Regions from separate parts of the Homo sapiens genome. Here region 2 is linked to region 1. Evidence: promoter capture Hi-C in human tissues and cell types (Jung and others, 2019). All regions are on one chromosome and are shown on one strand. Each heading gives the region's core, a stretch centred on a gene start or on the middle of the fragment in contact. The rest is flanking DNA. Distances are from core to core; before and after follow the strand shown. Region 1 holds the start of NDC1 (NDC1 transmembrane nucleoporin). Region 2 holds the start of LOC105378723 (a long non-coding RNA gene).

Region 1 (5,396 bases), core at 2,168-4,667:
TATTTCATCTTTCAGCATTGGTACTCCAGTGTTACTTCCTCTTGTGCTTGGCAAGGTGGCACATGTGCCACAGGTTGACTACTGAAGGGCATAGGCCTTAGGGGCACAGCAGCAGCACAACATGTGTGTCTTACTGCAATGCTTTCCAAACGATGGTGTTCCCTTTGTGGCTGAGACCAAAGAGGTCTTGTATCATTTAAAAAATTTATTCTATTTCAAATAATTAGTTTATAGCTTTCTTTTTCTTTTCTTTTCTTTTTTTTGAGATGCAGTCTCACTCTGTCTCCAGGCTAGAGTGCAGTGGCACGATCTCAGCTCACTGCAACCTCCACCTCCCTCGTTCAAGCTATTCTCCTGCCTCAGCTTCCTGAGTAGCTGGGACTACAGGCATGTGCCACCATGCCCAGCTAATTTTTGTATTTTTAGTAGAGACGGGGTTTCACCATGTTGGCCAGGATGTTCTCAATCTCCTGACCTTGTGATCCGCCCACCTTGGCCTCCCAAAGTAATTCAAACGGATTACAGGTGTGAGCCACCACACTCGGCCAGGTTATGGCTTTCAAAGGCTCAGAGAGCAACTTTGGATAGTTGCAGGCACTTCTGGGTGGTGCTTTCAGCAGCTACAGGGTGCTCAAATCAACAGAGTGGTTCTAACAGCAGCAGGGGCACCACCCTCAGCAGCTCAGCATTCAGTGTTGTCTCATGGCTCTAAATGGAAGCAGTAGCTTCCTGGTATTTGGGCAGTAACTCCATTCTGCTCTTAGCTACTACAGCCCCGTTCTTTCTTTCCTATGCTTTTTTAGCCTCTCCAACAACTTTGTTATCAATTCCCTGCATTAAATCCCCCTTTGATATAGGTATCAAAAGTTTTTGTCCTGAAGAAACACTGTCCAATATAGTTAATTTCTTCCACTCATTCATTATTCATTAAATAAAAATTCATTTATTACTTACTAATGTAATGGGTACTTTGGAAGCGATGATAAACAAGACAAAGTCCCTGCTCTTGTGAAGTCTGTATATTAGTGAGAAGTCAGACAATAAGAAGTAAACAAACAAGATGATTTAAGACTGTGATAGGTGCTATAAAAACAGAAGCAGAGGCTGGATGCGATGGCTGATGCCTGTAATCCCAGCACTTTGGGAGGCTGAGGCAGGCAGATCACCTGAGGTCAGGAGTTTGAGACCAGCCTGGCCAACATGGCAAAACCCCGTCTCTACTAAAAAATACAAAAATTAGCCAGCATGGTAGTATGCGCCTGTAATCCCAGCTACTCAAGAGGCTGAGGCAGGAGAATCACTTGAACCCGAGAGGCGGAGGTTGCAGTGAGCTGAGATCATGCCACTGCACTCCAGCCTGGGCAAAGGAGTGAGACTCTGTCTCAAAAAAAAAAAAAAATAGATGTGGCTTAAACAATAAATAATTGTCTCTCTTGTGTAAATGAAATTAGGAGGTAAAGGCAGGTAGCCTAGAACTGATATGGTTGCCATAAATAATCAAGTCTCCTTTAGGCTCAGTACTTCATTTTCCCTACAGTGTGACCCCCTTTCTGTGGTCCAGTATGGTGCTAGAGCTGCAGCCAACACATCCCAAATCCAGGCAGCTGAATGGAGGATGGGATTAAGAAGAGGCAAAGACCATCATGCAGTAGCTCCCTTTTAAGGGGGTTTCTAGGAAGCTACCATGCAATACTTTGATTATATTTTATTGGCCTGAACTCAGTCAGCTGGCCATACCTAGCTGCAAAAGAGGCTGGGAAATATAACTATATGCCCAGTTAAAAAACTGGGAGTTCAATTATTATGAAAGAAGGGGAGAATAGATATTGAGGCAGACAACGAGTAGTCTCTACCACAAGAACCTTAGAACCTGAGGTGTCTTTATGAACACGCATTTGGACTGATTTTTTTTTTTTTTGGACAGGGTCTCACTCTATGGCCCAGTCTGGAGTGTGATGGCGCCATCACTGCTCACTTCAGCCTGAACCTCCCAGGTTCAAGCAATTCTCCTGCCTCAGTCTATGGAGTAGCTTGGACTACAGGTGTGCACCACTACACCCGGCTAATTTAAAAAAAAGTTTGTTGTTGTTGTTGTTGTTGTTTTTGTGGAGATGAGGTCTCACTATGTTGCCCAGGCTGGTCTCAAACTCCTGGCTTGTGATCCTCCTGCCTTGGCCTCCCAAAGTGCTGGGATTACAGGTGTGAGCCACTGTGCCTGGCCTGGACTAATTCTTTACAAGTTTTCTCCACCACCGGATAGATCTCTTCACGGCAGAGACTTGATCTATCAGTTGTATTCCCAGTTTGTCCTACAGTGCTTTAGACATGATTGATAGTAACATGATTTTGGAAGTGAATAGGATATAATCTTAAAGCATTCAGGAAGCCATTGTTAGCAAACGTTGCAGAGCAGTAGGTGTGATCTCAATTCCTCTCACCAGCCTATGCATTTCCTTAGTCAGTAAATCACTGAATCTATTTCTGTCTTGAGTATTGCATGTTGACTGTGGCATGTGATTGAGCATAAAAAGGCGTTAGCGATATGCATCCAGAGATCTCACTGAGGTCTAAAGCACTGAGAAGACTTCATTAGGTGAAACTTGGGTTGGTGAAACACCTTTTTTCTTACTGGCAGTATATTAATGATAACATTTGTATAGCATATTATTTACATCCTCACAACATCACCAGGATATTTTTATTTTCATCCTTATCTTACTGTTGAAGAAATGGAGGCTCAGAGAAGATAAAAATATTCAATTTAGCAAGTGGCAGATCTGGAAGTAGAAACCAGATTTTATGAAACCAAAGGCATCTCTAGAGAATTTTTTTTTTATTTCAGTAAAATTACTGCGTACCTATTGTGGAGAAGACCACCACATCCTTTGGTTTCACTTTTAGGTGACTTATAAAGTAATAGGGAGAAATGAGGGCAGATCATTTTGCTAGCTCTAACTGAAGAATTCCAGTCAATCAATACTGTGGCTGTTATCGGCTTTATAAAAGACTACTATTCCCAGCATGCCTCAAGGCACCTCCAGGAAGACCTTGACTCCCAGCATTCTGTACTTTGGAACTCCGAGTCCCAGAATGCAACATTCCTCCTACTTCCTCTCAGGGGGCCGTCGAGACTACAGTTCCCAGCATGCAGCGCCGCCACCTGCTTCTGGCGCCCCGCTGGACCCTGCTTCGAAGGGACCGTTTGGTCGCCAGAGGGCGGTTCCTGGAGTTACAGCCGCGTTTGCGGGACGTGTCTGCGCGGCAGTCCTGGCCTGTTGAGCTTGTCCAGACGAAGCCTCGCAGGGATGGGTTGGAGCCTGGGCCGGGCTTCGCTCAGGCAGCGTTTGAGGCAGACCCAGCAGGGTCCTCCTGGGGCCTTCCTGCCTTTGAACTGCGGTGGCGGGCGGGCGCACGGTCTCCTGTACGCCCTAGACTAGGGGCCGCCATCTCCATGGCCACGGCCGTGAGCCGGCCCTGCGCCGGCAGGTCGCGGGACATACTGTGGCGCGTGAGTGCGGCGTGCACTGTGGCACGCACTGCCAGGGTCGGGCCGGGCGGGCAAGCTCTGATCGCGCGTGCGCGCTGGGCGGGGGAGGGCCGGTCCCGGGGCAGCGTGGAGAGAACGCGTGGGGAAGGCACCACTTGGGGGACTGATTGCAGGGTTGTGGGAAGTCCTGAGTGGAAGTTGGTTACGGGGTAGGAGAGGGGTCCTGAGTGGAAGGAAGCTGGTCAGAGTGGGACGGATGGACTGAATGGAAATTGGAATAGGGAGTGAGGCGGAGTTTTACGCAAGGGTACCGTATCCAGTAGGTGCAAAATAAATAACTTAATTTGTTTCGTTAAGAAGTGGGAAGGAATGCACGGAATTGGAAAGAAATGTGGCATTAGTAGAGGCTGGGGTTAGGGTCCAGTAAGCAGGGCAGGTGTTCTTTGTAAGGTAGAATGGGACTGAGCTGAGTGGAATAGTACTTCCTCCTTAAAGTTACGGAATTAACAGTACTACATCGCTTCTCTGGAGTGCAAAGAGAAAGAGGAGAAAGATCCCTTTTGGAAAAGTGCTTCTATCCCAGTGCACTGCCATCTCCCCTGTATTCCAAACTAAAAACTTTTGGGTCCGTAAGTCTTATCTTTTTTTTTTTTTGAGCCGGAGGCTCGCTCCCTGTTGCCCAGGCTGCAGTGCAATGGCGCGTTGTCGGCTCACTGCAACCCCCGCCTCCAGGGTTCAAGGAGTTCTGCCTCAGCTTCCCGAGGAGCGGGGATTATAGATACGCACCACTACGCCCAGCTAATTTTTGTATTTTTAGTAGAGATGGGGTTTCACCATGTTGGTCAGGCCGGTCTTGAACTCCTGACCTCAAGTGAGTCATCCGCCTCGGTCTCCCAAAGTGCTGAGATTACAGGCGTGAGCCACCGTGCCTGGCCTCTAAAATTTTTTTAAAAATTATTTTTATAATAGAGATACGATATCTTCTCCAGCCTGGTCTTGAGCTCCTGGGCTCAACTAGTCCTCCTGCCTCAGCCGCCTAACTATTTGGGACATCAGGTGCATGCCATCGTGCCTGGTGTATGTTTAGCATGCATGAGTACTTCATTCCTTTTTGTGGCTGAATAATCCACTGTATGGACATACCACATATTTTGTTTATCCATTCATCAGTATGTGGGTATTTGGGTTGTTGCCACCTTTGGCACTTGTGAGCCACCGCACTTGGCTGACAGTGTCTTCTGAAGCAAAAAAGTTTTAAATATTGCTGATGTCCAATTTATCTATATTTTTCTTTTGTTGCTTATGCTTTTGGTGTCATATCTAAGAAACCATTGCCAAATCCAAGATCATGAAGGTTTACTCCTATGTTTTCTTCCAAGAGTTTTATAGTTTTAGCTCTTACATGTAGGTCTTTAATCCATTTTGAGTTAATTTTTGTATAGAATGTGGGATAGGAGGCTGGGCGCTGTGGCTCACGCCTGTAATCTTAACACTTTGGGAGGCTGAGGTGGGAGGATCACTTGGGGTCAGGAGTTCGAGACCCCATCTCTACTGAAAAAAAAATTAGTCAGGTGTGGTGGCGGGCACCTGTAACCCCAGCTACTCAGGTGGCTGAGGCAGGAGAATCACTTGAACCCGGGAGGAGGAGGTTGCAGTGAGCTGAGATGGCACTGTTGCATCTAGCCTGGGGGACAGAGCGAGCTGTCTCAAAATCACAACATCAAAAAGAATGTGGGATAGGAGTTCAACTTTATTCTTTTTTTTTTTTTTTTTTGTTAGACAGAGTCTTGCTCTGTTGCCCGGGCTGGAATGATGCCTGGCTAATTTTTAAAAAATTTTTTATAGAGACAGGGTTTTACCATGTTGGCCAGGCTGGTCTCAAACTCCTGGCCTCAAGTGATCCGCCCAC
Region 2 (5,396 bases), core at 1,280-3,779, 1.3 Mb after region 1:
ACACAAAAGTTTGGGACTCACTGGTCTGGATTAGAACATGATGGTTGAATGATTGAAGCGGGGCAGTTGAAAATTTTATTCAGTGAGAAGAGAAAGAGAGCATGAGGAAGTGAGAACTTTATCAGAAGGCCACATCAGACTGCAGAGAAGTTTGTGAAATGTAGACTAGTCATGTGCTCAGGAAAAAGGAGAAAGTTAATTTTTAGGGACATTTAGGAAACTCTGTGCTACAGTATAGTTGGCTTAACTGTGAATAATATTGGCATATCTTATTAAAATCATCCTAGGAGGATGGTGGTAGGGTGGGGAGGTACTTACGTTGCACAGTTATGTATGTTTTTAAGGGGAATATTTGAGATAGCTAAATCCATACCTTTCATGTAGGAAGTTAGCAGATAATAGGTAAGGCCGGGCATGGTAGCTCATGCCTGTAATCCCGGCACTTGGGTAGGCCAAGGCAGCAGGATCGCTTGAGCCCAGGAGTTCGAGACAGCCTGGGCAACATGGTGAGACCCTGTCTCCATAAAATTTTTTAAAAAATTGCCAGGTGTGGTCGTGTGTGCCTGTGAGGCTGAGGTGGGAGGCTCGCTTGAGCCCAGGGGTCAAGGCTGCAGTGAGCCATGACTGCACGCCACTGCACTCCAGCGTGGGTGACAGAGTGAGATACTGTATAAAAAAAAAAAGCTAAAACAAAACAAGAAGTATTATCTTAAGCATGTTATTTAGAAATATGGAGATAAATAAAAATAACTGAAAGTAGGTAGTTGCTTCTGAGGAGAGAAATTGGGAGTTGGCAAGAGAGTACTGTTTTTCAACCATGTAAATGTATTTGTTTTATTAAAAACAGATTAGAGGCAGGCGTGGTAATCCCAGCACTTTGGGAGGCCGAGGCGGGCAGAACATGAGGTCAGGACCATCCTGACCAACATGGTAAAACCCCGTATCTGCTAAAAATACAAAAATTAGCTGGGCGTGGTAGCACACGCTTGTAGTCCCAGCTACTCAGGAGGCTGAGGCAGGAGATTTGCTTGAACCTGGGAAGTGGAGGTTGCAGTGAGCTGAGAGTGCACTCCAGCTTGGCAGCAGAGTGGGATTCTGTCTCAAAAAAAAAAAAAAAAAAAAAAAAAAAAAGATGAGAAAAGACAGTCTCTACTGTTCAGATAGGAAGTAAAAACATAAATAGGTTTAAGTGCTAAGTGCTGTGAGAAAAGTAAAAAGAGTTCATTAAGAAGAGGCATACTTATCTGAGCCCACCCTGGGTAAGAGGGTGGAGGAGTAGGTTATGGAAAGCTTTCTGAAAGAGAGACATTTCCTAGTTATATTGTAGACAACATAAAGTATGATGCAATTAAACATCTTTTGGATTTCATGTATTTTTAAAGTGTGAACAATTAAAAATAATTCAGATTACTTTAAAAAAATCCATTTAACCCATTTATTGGGTGCCTACTTTGTATTAGGCACTGTGGTATGCCCAGAAGATGTAATGATAAGCAAAATCAGAAATGATTTCTTACCTCATAGACTTGAGAATCTCATGGGGAGACTGACACGAATCAGATTGTTCACTGTAAGACTGTACAGAAGTCCCTTCATTTCTGCTTTCAGGATCACTTTCAGGATCACTTCTTACAGCCATGGTTCATTAAGTGTGGCCCCCCAGTCCAGCCACATCAGCTGGGAGGATCGTCTTAGCCCAGGAATTCGAAGCTGTAGTGAGTTAGAATGGCATCACTGCACCCCAGCCTGGGTGACACAGGGAGACCCTGGCTCTGAAAAAAAAAAAAAAGTACTTTTTCTTGATAATTATTAAGATATAGTTGGTTATTTAAGGTTAGAATTTCATTTAATACCCATTTACCACATTCTAAAAATGTAACCAAGAACTAGAGGTTAGTTCTGATAATATTTTTTTCCATGATTTGAGGTTATTTGAATTCTATTATTTTTATTTGTTTCAACCAAGTAAAGTGTGCAGGGGAAGCAGTGAGCCTTCATTTCTTTTCTTTTTTTGAGACAAGTTCTGGCTCTTATCACCTAGCCTGGAGTGCAGTGGTGCTATCTCAGGTCACTGCAACCTCTCCCTCCTGGGCTCAAGCCATCCTCCTACCTCAGCCTCCCAAGTAGCTGAAACTACAGGCGCATACCACCACACCTGGCTAATTTATGTATTTTCTGTAGAGACAGGGTTTTACCATGTTGCCCAGGCTGGCCTCGAACTTGCGAGCTCAAGCAATCAGCCTACCTCAGCCTCCTATGCAGCTGAGATTACAGGTGTGAGTCACTGTTCCCAGCTGAGCCTTATCTTCAAAATACTCTCTCCTCCGAGAGAACTTCGTTTCTAGGAATTACATCTTTTTGGGGAAAATTTTGTACTCTTGATAGCTTCAAAGAAAAAATTGAAAATAGCAATTTTGTGATAAAATTTTTGAGGCAATAAGACATTGGCTACTCTTACAAGAAAAGATGTGGGGGTGATTATCGTTAATTATAACTTAATTGTACTTTTACAAATAAAGAGTGTAATTGGATTGTTTGTAACTCAAAGGATAAATGCTTGAGGGGATGGATACCCCATTCTCTATGATGCGCTTGTTTTACATTGCATGCCTGTACTGGAACATCTCTTGTACCCCATAAATATATACACCTACTGTGTACCCTTAAAAAGTAAAAAATAAAGGTGAGGAAGATGAGAAAATACAGTCTTTTTCATAACACATATTCCTATTAGCAATTTTTTTTTTTTTTTTTTTTTGAGATGGAGTCTCACTCTGTCACCCAGGCTGGAGTGCAATGGCGTGGTCTCGGCTCACTGCAACCTCCTATTAGTAATTTAAATGTATTTTTAGTTATATGAAAAATTACTCAAAGTAGCTGACGCAGTGACTCATGCCTGTAGTCCTAGCAGTTTGGGAAGCCGAGGCAGGAGGATTGCTTAAGCTCAGGGCTTCGAAACCAGCCTGGGTGAGATAGCGAAATCCTGTCTCTACAAAAAATACAAGAATTGGCTTGGCATGGTGGCACACACCTGTAGTCCCAGCTAGTTGGGTGGCTGAGATGGGAGGATTGCTTGAGCCTAGGGAGGTCAAGGCTGCAGTGAACCGTAATTGTGCCACTTTACCCCCCAACCTGAACGACAGAGCAAGACCATGTCTCAAGAAAGAAGAAGAAGAAAAAGATTACTCAAAATGAAAACCTGTCAATTTTCTGAGCCTGGGACTCTCCGGGTACATTGATCTATATTAGGTACATTGATTTTTTTCTTTTTTTAATCTTTGTAGCTTTTGTTTATGTATACAAACTTGATTTATGGAGTATTTTTTAAGTGGATGAATAAATTGTCTAAAATGTTTTACAAGCAAAATTGTGAATCAGCATTGTTATTTCAAATCTTTGTTGTTTTATGGCTTTTGTCAGATGACATCTACAAAATTATTAAAGAATCGTTATAGCAGACTAGCATTAAAAATTTAAAGATATTTTGGTTACTAGACAAGGTAAAACTAATCTTTTAGAAATATAACTCATTTTAATTTTTGAAACAGAGCTCATTTTAGTTGTTAAAGTGAGGAACCTGCAGCAGTTCTCACAAGAATTTAGAAATAGTCATATGTTTTGACAACTTTTCTGACAGTTATGTAAAACACCTTATCAAGAATAATAAAAGCAAAATGTATTAATTAAACAAATTCATATGTATAAAAATTAGGAGCAAAAGCATTCTTTTGCAGTTGTAAGTTTCTATAGCTTTTACTGGAAAATGTTAGTCAAAATATTAATGGTGAAAATGTAGTGTGGTTTAAAATTTTTTTTAATTAAAAAATTTTTAAATATACTTTGCTAGACTCCAACTGACACCATATCTAGTGTGGTTTTGACTTTAGTTTTCATTATAATAATTTAGAAAGAAGAACCTAATACATTTTTAAAGTAAAAGACAGTATTACTCTGGAAAAGCAAGGCAGAGAATGTAGAGGACTGCACTATAAAGAAGAATTATTGGCCAAGTGTGGTGGCTCATTCCTGTAATCCCAGTGCTTTGGGAGACTGAGATGGGAGGGTCACTTGAGGCCATGAGTTTGAGACAAGCCTGAGCAACATAGTGAGACTTTGTCTCTACAACAAAAAAAAATTAGCCAGGTGTGGTGGTGTGCGCCTGTGTTCTTAGTTGCTTGGGAGGCTGAGGCAGGAGGATCATTTGAGCCCAGGAGTTCCAGGCTGCAGTGAGTGATTATTAAAGAGTGAACTCTTTATTTTAGGTAGGATTTTTTTGTTTATATGATGTAAAGTTATATGATAGAGATGTTTACCTAAATTTGTAATTTAGTAAATCAACCAAGTAAAATCAAAGATGGTACATTTTAATTCTATGCAGTTTGCTTTTGCTGGCAGAAGGACTCTAATTTTTATTCATATTATTAATGTTTGTTTAGAAACGGATCTGAATTTAAGGTGTATAGGGCAAAGTGAATAGTAAAAAACATCCTGATTTTTTAATAAAATCACTTTTTTTTTTTTTTTTTGAGACAGGGTCTCACTCTGTTGCCCAGACTGGAATGCAGGAATGCAATCTTGGCTCACCGCAACCTCTGCCTCCTGGTCTCAAGCGATCCTCCCACCTCAGCCTCCTAAGTAGCTGGGACTACAGGCGCATGCCACAGTGGCCGGCTAATTTTTGTTTTCTTTGTAAAGATGGGGTTTCACCATGTTGTCCAGGCTGGTCTTGAACTCCTGGACTCAATCCGCCAGCCTCGGCCTCCCAAAATGTTGGGATTACAGGTGTGAGCCATGTGCCTGGCCTTGACATTATTATTATTATTATTATTATTTTTTTCGAGATGGAGTCTTGCTCTGTCACCCAGGCTGGAGTGCTGTGGCGCGATCTCAGTTCACTGCAACTTCCGCTTCCCGGGTTCAAGCAATTCTCCCGCCTCAGCCTCTTAAATAGGTAGGATTTTACAGGCGCCCACCACTGTACCCGGCTAATTTTTGTATTTTTAGTAGAGACGGGGTTTCACCATGTTGGCCAGGCTGGTCTCGAACTCCTGACCTTGTGATCTGCCCACCTCGGCCTCCCAAAGTGCTGGGATTACAGGCGTGAGGCACCATGCCTGGCTGACATTATTTTTTAGAACACTTTTAGGTTCACAGCAAAATTGAGCAGAAAGTGCAAAGTTGCCATATATACCCTGCATCCACACATGCATAGCCTCCCCCACTTTCAACATCTGGCACCAGAGTAGCATGTTTATTACAGTGGATGAACCTACATTGGCCCGCATTGATACCTTATCACCCAGTGTCTATAGTTTACTTTAGGGTTCATTCTTGGTAATGTGCATTTTGTATCATTATACAAATGTGTAATGACAGATATTCACTATTATAGTGTC

The links. Contacts are between HindIII fragments. The study calls those that stand out against the background at their distance.
Region 2: a contact is called between a fragment that was not itself captured here and the fragment with the promoter of NDC1 in region 1, in 1 of the 25 tissues and cell types used here (H1 embryonic stem cells).

Annotation. Positions count from the first base shown.
Region 1 is chr1:53,836,317-53,841,712 of GRCh38, reverse strand. NDC1 (NDC1 transmembrane nucleoporin) reads left to right here and starts at 3,417. Exons shown (of 18, transcript NM_018087.5): 1 at 3,417-3,508. The coding sequence starts at 3,452. It also overlaps the pseudogene RPL37P7. RefSeq lists an enhancer at 2,944-3,423 and a silencer at 3,534-3,663. The HindIII fragment of the contact is 21,020 bases long and covers 1-5,396 here.
Region 2 is chr1:52,527,621-52,533,016 of GRCh38, reverse strand. All of the region lies in intron 1 of TUT4 (terminal uridylyl transferase 4), which reads left to right. It overlaps LOC105378723 (a long non-coding RNA gene), which reads right to left and starts at 1,635. Exons shown (of 4, transcript XR_007066083.1): 1 at 1,518-1,635. RefSeq lists an enhancer at 656-715. The HindIII fragment of the contact is 4,129 bases long and covers 465-4,593 here.